Regions from separate parts of the Homo sapiens genome. Here region 2 is linked to region 1. Evidence: promoter capture Hi-C in 16 types of primary human blood cells and fetal thymus (Javierre and others, 2016). All regions are on one chromosome and are shown on one strand. Each heading gives the region's core, a stretch centred on a gene start or on the middle of the fragment in contact. The rest is flanking DNA. Distances are from core to core; before and after follow the strand shown. Region 1 holds the start of SNRK (SNF related kinase). Region 2 overlaps SNRK (SNF related kinase).

What was found. Contacts are between HindIII fragments. The CHiCAGO score rates a contact against its expected background, and 5 or more counts as called.
Region 2: a fragment that was not itself captured here is called in contact with the fragment with the promoter of SNRK in region 1 in 5 of 17 cell types (total CD8 T cells, non-activated CD4 T cells, naive CD8 T cells and 2 more); the score reaches 8.8 in total CD8 T cells.

Annotation. Positions count from the first base shown.
Region 1 is chr3:43,284,736-43,288,343 of GRCh38, forward strand. SNRK (SNF related kinase) reads left to right here and starts at 1,805. Exons shown (of 7, transcript NM_017719.5): 1 at 1,805-1,940. RefSeq lists an enhancer at 1,545-2,045 and silencers at 1,650-2,049, 2,290-2,339. The HindIII fragment of the contact is 7,817 bases long and covers 1-3,608 here.
Region 2 is chr3:43,332,554-43,335,941 of GRCh38, forward strand. All of the region lies in intron 4 of SNRK (SNF related kinase), which reads left to right. Among named protein-coding and RNA genes, the nearest start is that of SNRK-AS1, 18 kb to the right of the region's middle. The HindIII fragment of the contact is 1,883 bases long and covers 1,144-3,026 here.

The DNA.
Region 1 (3,608 bases), core at 555-3,054:
CAGCACTTCAGCTACCCAAGAAATACTGGGGATGAATAAATGATTTACCATGTGGCCAGTACTGCGTCCTTCTCTAGAAGAGTATTGCAGCCAACTTCATTTAAATCAATTTATTATTTTGCCCTTTTTCATTTGTTTTGCTCTTTTATGCCTTGTTTTCCTTAGAAAATTTATTCAAAACCTAGTTAAACAGCAGCAATATAAATACTTTATTTTTCAAGAGCTTATATATTATCGTCATTGTTCTGTAGTTACTGATATAACTCAGGGACTACAGACCCAGGGGTGGAGGCCTTCGACCACTGGAAATCCCTTGGGAGACCATTACAGTGGTATTTTCTCCCTTTAGTTGGCTACAGAGTTCCCTGAATAGTGATATCTCCCTGAGGAGAAAAGTGCATGGTCTTCCTGATTTCTAGCAACAAAAGGACAAATTCTACAAATCCAAGTTAGGAGCTCTTGCTTAATATGCTGCTACAGTTACGATTTCCATGTCAAAATGAGATGACTCTTTTATGGTCTTTTCAGGTCAGAGTGATCCCAGGTGGGACCCTAAGGCGCAGAGGCCTAATCTGAGGCTTTCCCTGGTGCTCTCCCACCACCTGATGCAAGGGTATTAGGGTAACTGGGAGTCCCCTTGATCAGAAAACCCTATGTTATTACCCTAAGAATCAAACTGTTTGCACCTCCCAACAATCCACTCCTGCTTCCCAATCATCTTCAGACATGCAAAGTTGATGCATAGAAGCTAAAAGGCTTTTGACATTTGCAGGTCAACAGAGATTTGCTAAAACCATCTAGATTTCTCTTCGCAGTCCAGTCAATTCAACCAAGCCTGCAGCATCTCCGCAGCTCTTCTGGCTTGTGTCCTTCCTTGCTAGGGGTCCTTTCTTGGGGAAGGGTGGACACAACGTGGGAACAGAAGGGGAAAAGCAGGTTGAAGAAATCTGGCGTCTGGTTTGTTGGTGTTCCCTTCCAGGAACCCTGAAGAGCTGGTCTCTATTGCATGCCATGCTTCCAGGGGTGGGAGTCGGGAGTCCCCTCCCACCCTCTGCGGCCATCCCTAAGCTCCCTTCCAGAGCAACCTGGCCTGGCGACCATACCACTGAACCATCAAGGGCTATGGTTAATGCCCGGCGTGTTTTGAATCTCTGACTTCACGTGCTTTGATGTGTCCCCACGACCGTTTACTTTTCTATGCTGTTGCCAGAGGCTGCCTAGCAGGGCCTGTGTCTCCCGCTGACCTTTAAGGCCAGCACTGCATTCAGATGTTGGGCTTTTCCAATTTTGCTTAAATAACAACAAAATCAACCGAATTTTTTCAAATTAGAGTCCCAGGGAGAAGAAACTACAGAGAAAAAAATCATATTATGTATATATATGTATATACATATGTGCATGTGTGTATGTATATGTATTTTTACAATTTTTTTATCCTTGTTTAAACCTGGGCGGGAACCAAAGAGTAAAGCGCGTGCGGCTCCCTGCCCCCTGCCGCCAAGACGCAGTCCTGTACAGACGCGGTCCCTTCCCTCCGATTTCCCCTGACAGCTCGCGCTACTTTTTCCCGGCCATTGTTCCGTGTCCCTGGTGCTTCCTCCTCCCCCGTCCTCCATCCTCCTTGGGCGCCTTGCCCGCTTTGTCCCGCCAGCCGCCTCAGCCCCGACTCGCCGGGGTCAGAAAGCCGCCAGGATGCCCTCCAGCAGCCCGCGCGCCGGCCGCAGGTGCGCGCCGCCCCGCCCTGCCCTTCCCGCGGCCCCGCCCCAGCGCTGACGTCACAGTGACGCGCAGCCCGCGCAGGCGCAGCTACCCGGCACCCCCTCCCCGCGGCCGGCAGCCCGCTCGGTATTATGATTAGCGCTGGGTGCGGGGTTTCGGCGGCCGGGAGGGAGTTGTCGGCGCCGCGGCCGCTGCGGACGGACGCTCGCCTGCCGGCTGAGGTAGGGGCGAGCGCGGAGCGCGGCGGGGCGCGGCGGCCGTAGGCAGGGGTGCGGGGCCGGCCTCCGCCGCCTCAGTAGCCTCCGCTGTTGCCGGGCTGGGCGCCCGGGCCGGGGCGCTCGCCGCAGGCGGAAAGTAAGTTGCGCTCTCGGCGCCGGCCGCAGCGCGCGGCCCGGGAGGACGCGGGGCCCGGGCTGCGGTGGCCCGGACCCCGCGGCGCGGCCTGGCGGCGGGGCGGCGGCGGGGCCCGGCGGGAGCCGTCACTGCGGCGGCGGCCGCGGTCGCCTGGAGGCCCTGCCCTTGCGGCCGCGGCGGGATTGCGGCACCTCGGAAGGCGCCCGCATCCCCGCGCCCCGCCCCGGAGCGGGCCGAGTGCGGCGCCCGCGGGGCCCCGCGCCCTGGGCGCTTGGTAGGGTGTGTGTTCTTTGAATGCGTTTTCCCCTTTCAGAAGACTGTAGAAATCCGGCCTCAGCAAAAGGGTTCCGTGGTCAAACTGCTTTACAATAGAGTGGGGATGTTGTCTGTAGAGAAAGGGCAAAGGGGTAAGGAAAGAGGAGCAGTGCCATTCCCGAGGGAGAGCTAGAATTTTTGCAGACTGGGAGACTGGGAAATCTACGTTCTTTTCCATAGTCATCGCCTGTTGATTTCTTTCTGGTCCATTTTACAGGGACCTTCCTGCCTTTTACTTGGACTTGGGTTGCAGGAAAGTGGCAGCCTTTTATCTTCGGGGTTCTTGGAGCTGTGCTATTTGTAACTGTTGGATCGCATACAGTCCAGTAGTTTCATAGGGAGTTTCAGGCTTTGGGGAGAATTTAGCAGTGGAGTTCCTAAATCTATAGAGGTCTGAGGATATGGGACCTTTCAAACTGTCATGTTACTTTCCACCCCCCTTCCCTTTAATTATGTGCATTCTTAAAGTCTTAGGAACCGTGGTAAAGTTGACTTAATGCCTTAAACATTTTGTCAGGTTTTAAGGTGAAGCATGGCTTGCAAGTGTTGGACATCCTGTTGAATCTCCACCAAGTTCCTATCAAACATGAAATGCCTGAGTTTGGGCTCCTTGTATGGGATTGGAGCACTATGTCCCAAACCAGTCTTTAACTTATCAGAATATATACAGCAGTGTACTTTAAAGCCCGGGTTGTCAAGGCTTATGTAATCAGTTTGTTAATTTATAATCTCGTTACATTGCTTTCCAGATTTATAAAATAATTCCCTTAAGGAAATCTGTCCTCAACGTCTGCTTAAATATTTCTCTTGGAATTGGATTCTTGAAGAGGAATGTACTGTACAAGTGATGATTAAAGCATACTAATTAGACAAGTTTCTTTTTTTAAAGAACACCAAATACCAAATTTTTAATCTGATTATCTGTGTAATTGTCCTTGAGAGGAGAACAGGTGGACATTCCCATTTTACAGAACTAGAAATGAGAGAAATTACATGACATTTCCAAGGTCACATATTGAAGCAGTGTAGAAAGTCAGGTGCACAGTGCTAACTTTTTATAATACTCTCATCCTGAAGGCTTTTCAGGCAGGAAACTTTCAGTGCCACCTTTCAATTTTTTTTTAAATTTGTATAATCAGTTTTTAATTGTTCATTTTGTGCACAAAAATTACTCTCACCGTATTTTTTAATAATTCTGAGTATTTTTTTCTGTTTTACTG
Region 2 (3,388 bases), core at 835-3,334, 48 kb after region 1:
TCTTATTCAAGAAATCTATTACATGCCTCTTCAACCTTCAGGAGTGGTGGTTATTTCACTTGAACTGAAGAAATACCATGGGAACTACCTTTCTCTGCATGAGCAAAAAGCAAGATCACCTGGAATTGTTTTAAGTTCCAGAGAAGAGTTAGGGCATTTTCTTTCCTGAATAGACCATCAACACACTATTTTAGGGTTTACATAGTATGTCTCATAATTTTCTTCACACACCTTCTGCTAATTGACTAAAGAGCTGTTTAGGTTTATGTGACTATGGGAAGCCAGCATAAAAAGTATACTCAATTATTTGGAATTTAAAGTAGTACATAGTACTATGATATGTGTAGTGAGAAATATAGTAATGGAATAGAACTGTTGGAAGTTCAGTATTGACATTTTAAGTGACATTTTTTAATGAGCTCAGCTGAGATTATAGCCACTACTTACAGGACTTTGCTGTAGAAACAGAGTTTTGAGTTTCTCCTATCAGCTGGTAAGAAGGAAATCTGATTGCCCAAGGACTTTTTTTCTCTAAATGAAGCCCCATCTCAGGTGGATGTTTAAGAACTTAGGTATTCAAGGCCGAGGCAGGCAGATCACAAGGTCAGGAGATCGAGACCATCCTGACTTACATGGTGAAACCCCGTCTCTACTAAAAATACAGAAAATTACCTGGGCGCCTGTAGTTCCAGCTACTCAGGAGGCTGAGGCGGGAGAATGGCGTGAACCCTGGAGGTGGAGCTTGCAGTGAGCCGAGATCGCGCCACTGCATTCCAGCCTGGGCGACAGAGCGAGACTCTGTCTCAAAAAAAAAAAAAAAAAAAAAAAAAAAAAGAACTTAGGTATTGAAACTCTGGATTCAAATATTGACTTCTCCATTTACTAATGATGTCAGAGTGGTAGAAACTACCATATAGGGTTATTGTGAAAATTAAGTGAATTAATATGTGTAAAGCTCTTAGCTCGGTCCTTAGCACATAGGAAACTATGAATATTGATGATGATTATTTTTATGACGTTACTGTTAACTATTCTCTACCCCAAGAAGCAGGGCAGTTGTCTGGGGGCATACGTTGTCTGCATGTTGGATGTTTGTGATGCATGTTGTAATTCAAGGAGTATTTCCACAGCTTCTACTGAAAAAGCTTATTTTTATATTGATATATATATCATTCAAATAAGTATACAATGTATATGTAGTAAAATGAGGGCCTGTGTACCCATTATCTAGCTTAAGAAATAGAACAGTTCCTAGTATCTTAGTAGCTGTCTGTGTCTCCCTCCTAGAAGGATTATTTTTAATAATTATTGAGGCTGGGCGCAGTGGCTCACACCTGTAATCCCAGCACTTAAGGAGGCCGAGACAGGCAGATCACAAGATCAGGAGTTCGAGACCAGCCTGATCAACATGGTGAAACCCTGTCTCTACTAAAAATACAAAACTTAGCCGGGCATGGTGGCTGGCGCCTGTAATCCCAGCTACTCAGGAGGCTGAGGCAGGAGAATCACTTGAACCCAGGAGGTGGAGGTTGCAGTGAGCTGAGATCATGCCACTGCACTCCAGCCTGGGCGACAGAGTGAGACTCTGTCTCAAAAAACTAATAATTATTATTGGGGCCAGGCATGGTGGCTCGTTCCTGTAATCTCAGCACTTTGGGAGGCCAAGATGGAAGGATCATTTGTGCCCAGGAGTTCAAGACCAGCCTGGGCAACATAGGGAGGCCCTGTCTCTACTAAACAAACAAGCAAAAAGAAAAATTAGCCAGTTACGGTGGCTCACGCCTGTGGTCTCAGCTACTGGAGAGGCTGAGGTGGGAGGATGGCATGGGCCTAGAGGGTCGAGGATACGGTGAGCTGCGATTGCACCACTGCACTCCAGTCTGGGTAACAGAGTAAGACCCTGTCTCAAAAAAAAAAAAAATTATTGGGACTATTTAGGTTTTTAAAATTTTTTCCTATTTCAGTTTTGCTAAGCTGTGTTTTTTAAGGGACATGTCTGCTTTATATAATTTTTCAAATGTATTAACCTCAAGTATTTATATTATCTTTTTTTTTTTTTGAGATGGAGTCTAGTGGTGTTCCCAGGCTGGAGTGCAGTGGCACAGTCTCGGCTCACTTCAGCCTCCACCTCCTGGGTTCAAGCGATTCTCCTGCTTCAGCCTCCCAGTTAGCTGGGACTAGAGGTGTGTGCCACCGTGCCCAGCTAATGTTTGTATTTTTAGTAAAGGCAAGGTTTTAACATGTTGGCCGGGATGGTCTCAATCTCTTAACCTCGTGATCCGCCTGCCTCGGCCTCCCAAAGTGCTGGGATTACAGGCATGAGCCACCACGCCCAGCCTATAATATCTTTTAGTTATATTTTTTAAGTCTATAAGAAGTGTGGATATATTGTCCTTTTTAATTTCAATAGTGATAATTTGTGCCTTATCTTTTTTTTGTCTTGATCAGTTTTGCCAGAAGTTTGTTATTTTATTAGTCTTTTTCTAAGAACTACCTTTTGCTTTTATTAACAATTATAATTTTTGTTTTATGTTTTATTAATTTTCTTTTCTCTTGTCTGTAGTATTTCGTGCCACTCACTTCCATGGGCTAATTCTGTTCTTCCTCTTTCTGTTGTTGGATACTTAGCTCACAAATTTCCCTTTTCTGTTGTAATAATTTAAGGGTATAAATTGCCTACTGATACCATTTTAGCTGCATCCCACTAGTTTTGATTTATAGTCCTTTTGTTATTCAGTTCTAATAAGTATTTTCTAGTTTGTGTTGATTTATTTCATGTGTGAGTTGTTTACAGGGGTGTTTTACATTTCCAAATGTATGGCGTTTTTCTAATTAGCTTTTTATTGATTTCTAACTTAATTGTGTTGTGGTCCAATAATAATAGCCTCTATGGTACCAGTGTTGTTTTTGTTTTTTTGTTTTTTCAAATTGCTGAGACTTGCTTATGGCCTAGCATAAGGTCTTTTTGTTCTGGAAAATAGTGTATATTTTCCAGTTTTGGAGTTCTGCATAAATCCTTAAGATCAAGCTTTTTTATTATGCTGTTCAAAATTATTTGCATCCTGTATGAGTTTTTCTTTCTCCTACTGGATCTATCAGTTACTGAGGTATTCTTCCACTGTGATGGTGGATTTGTTTTTTTTCTTGGAGCTCTGTCAGTTTTTGCTTTGAGTGTTTTGAGGTAATGTTATTAGGTGCAAACAAGTTGAAAAGTGTCGTATCTTCCCATTCTATCAATTTGTATCAATGAGGTAATGGCCCTCTTTAGTACTGCTTTTTTGCCTTAAAGTCAGTCTGTGTTGTCTAATTTCAGCCACACCAGTCTTCTGTTGGCTACCATTTGTGTGCTGTAGAGTTTTTCTTTCTTTTCTTAAACTTCCCATTGTCC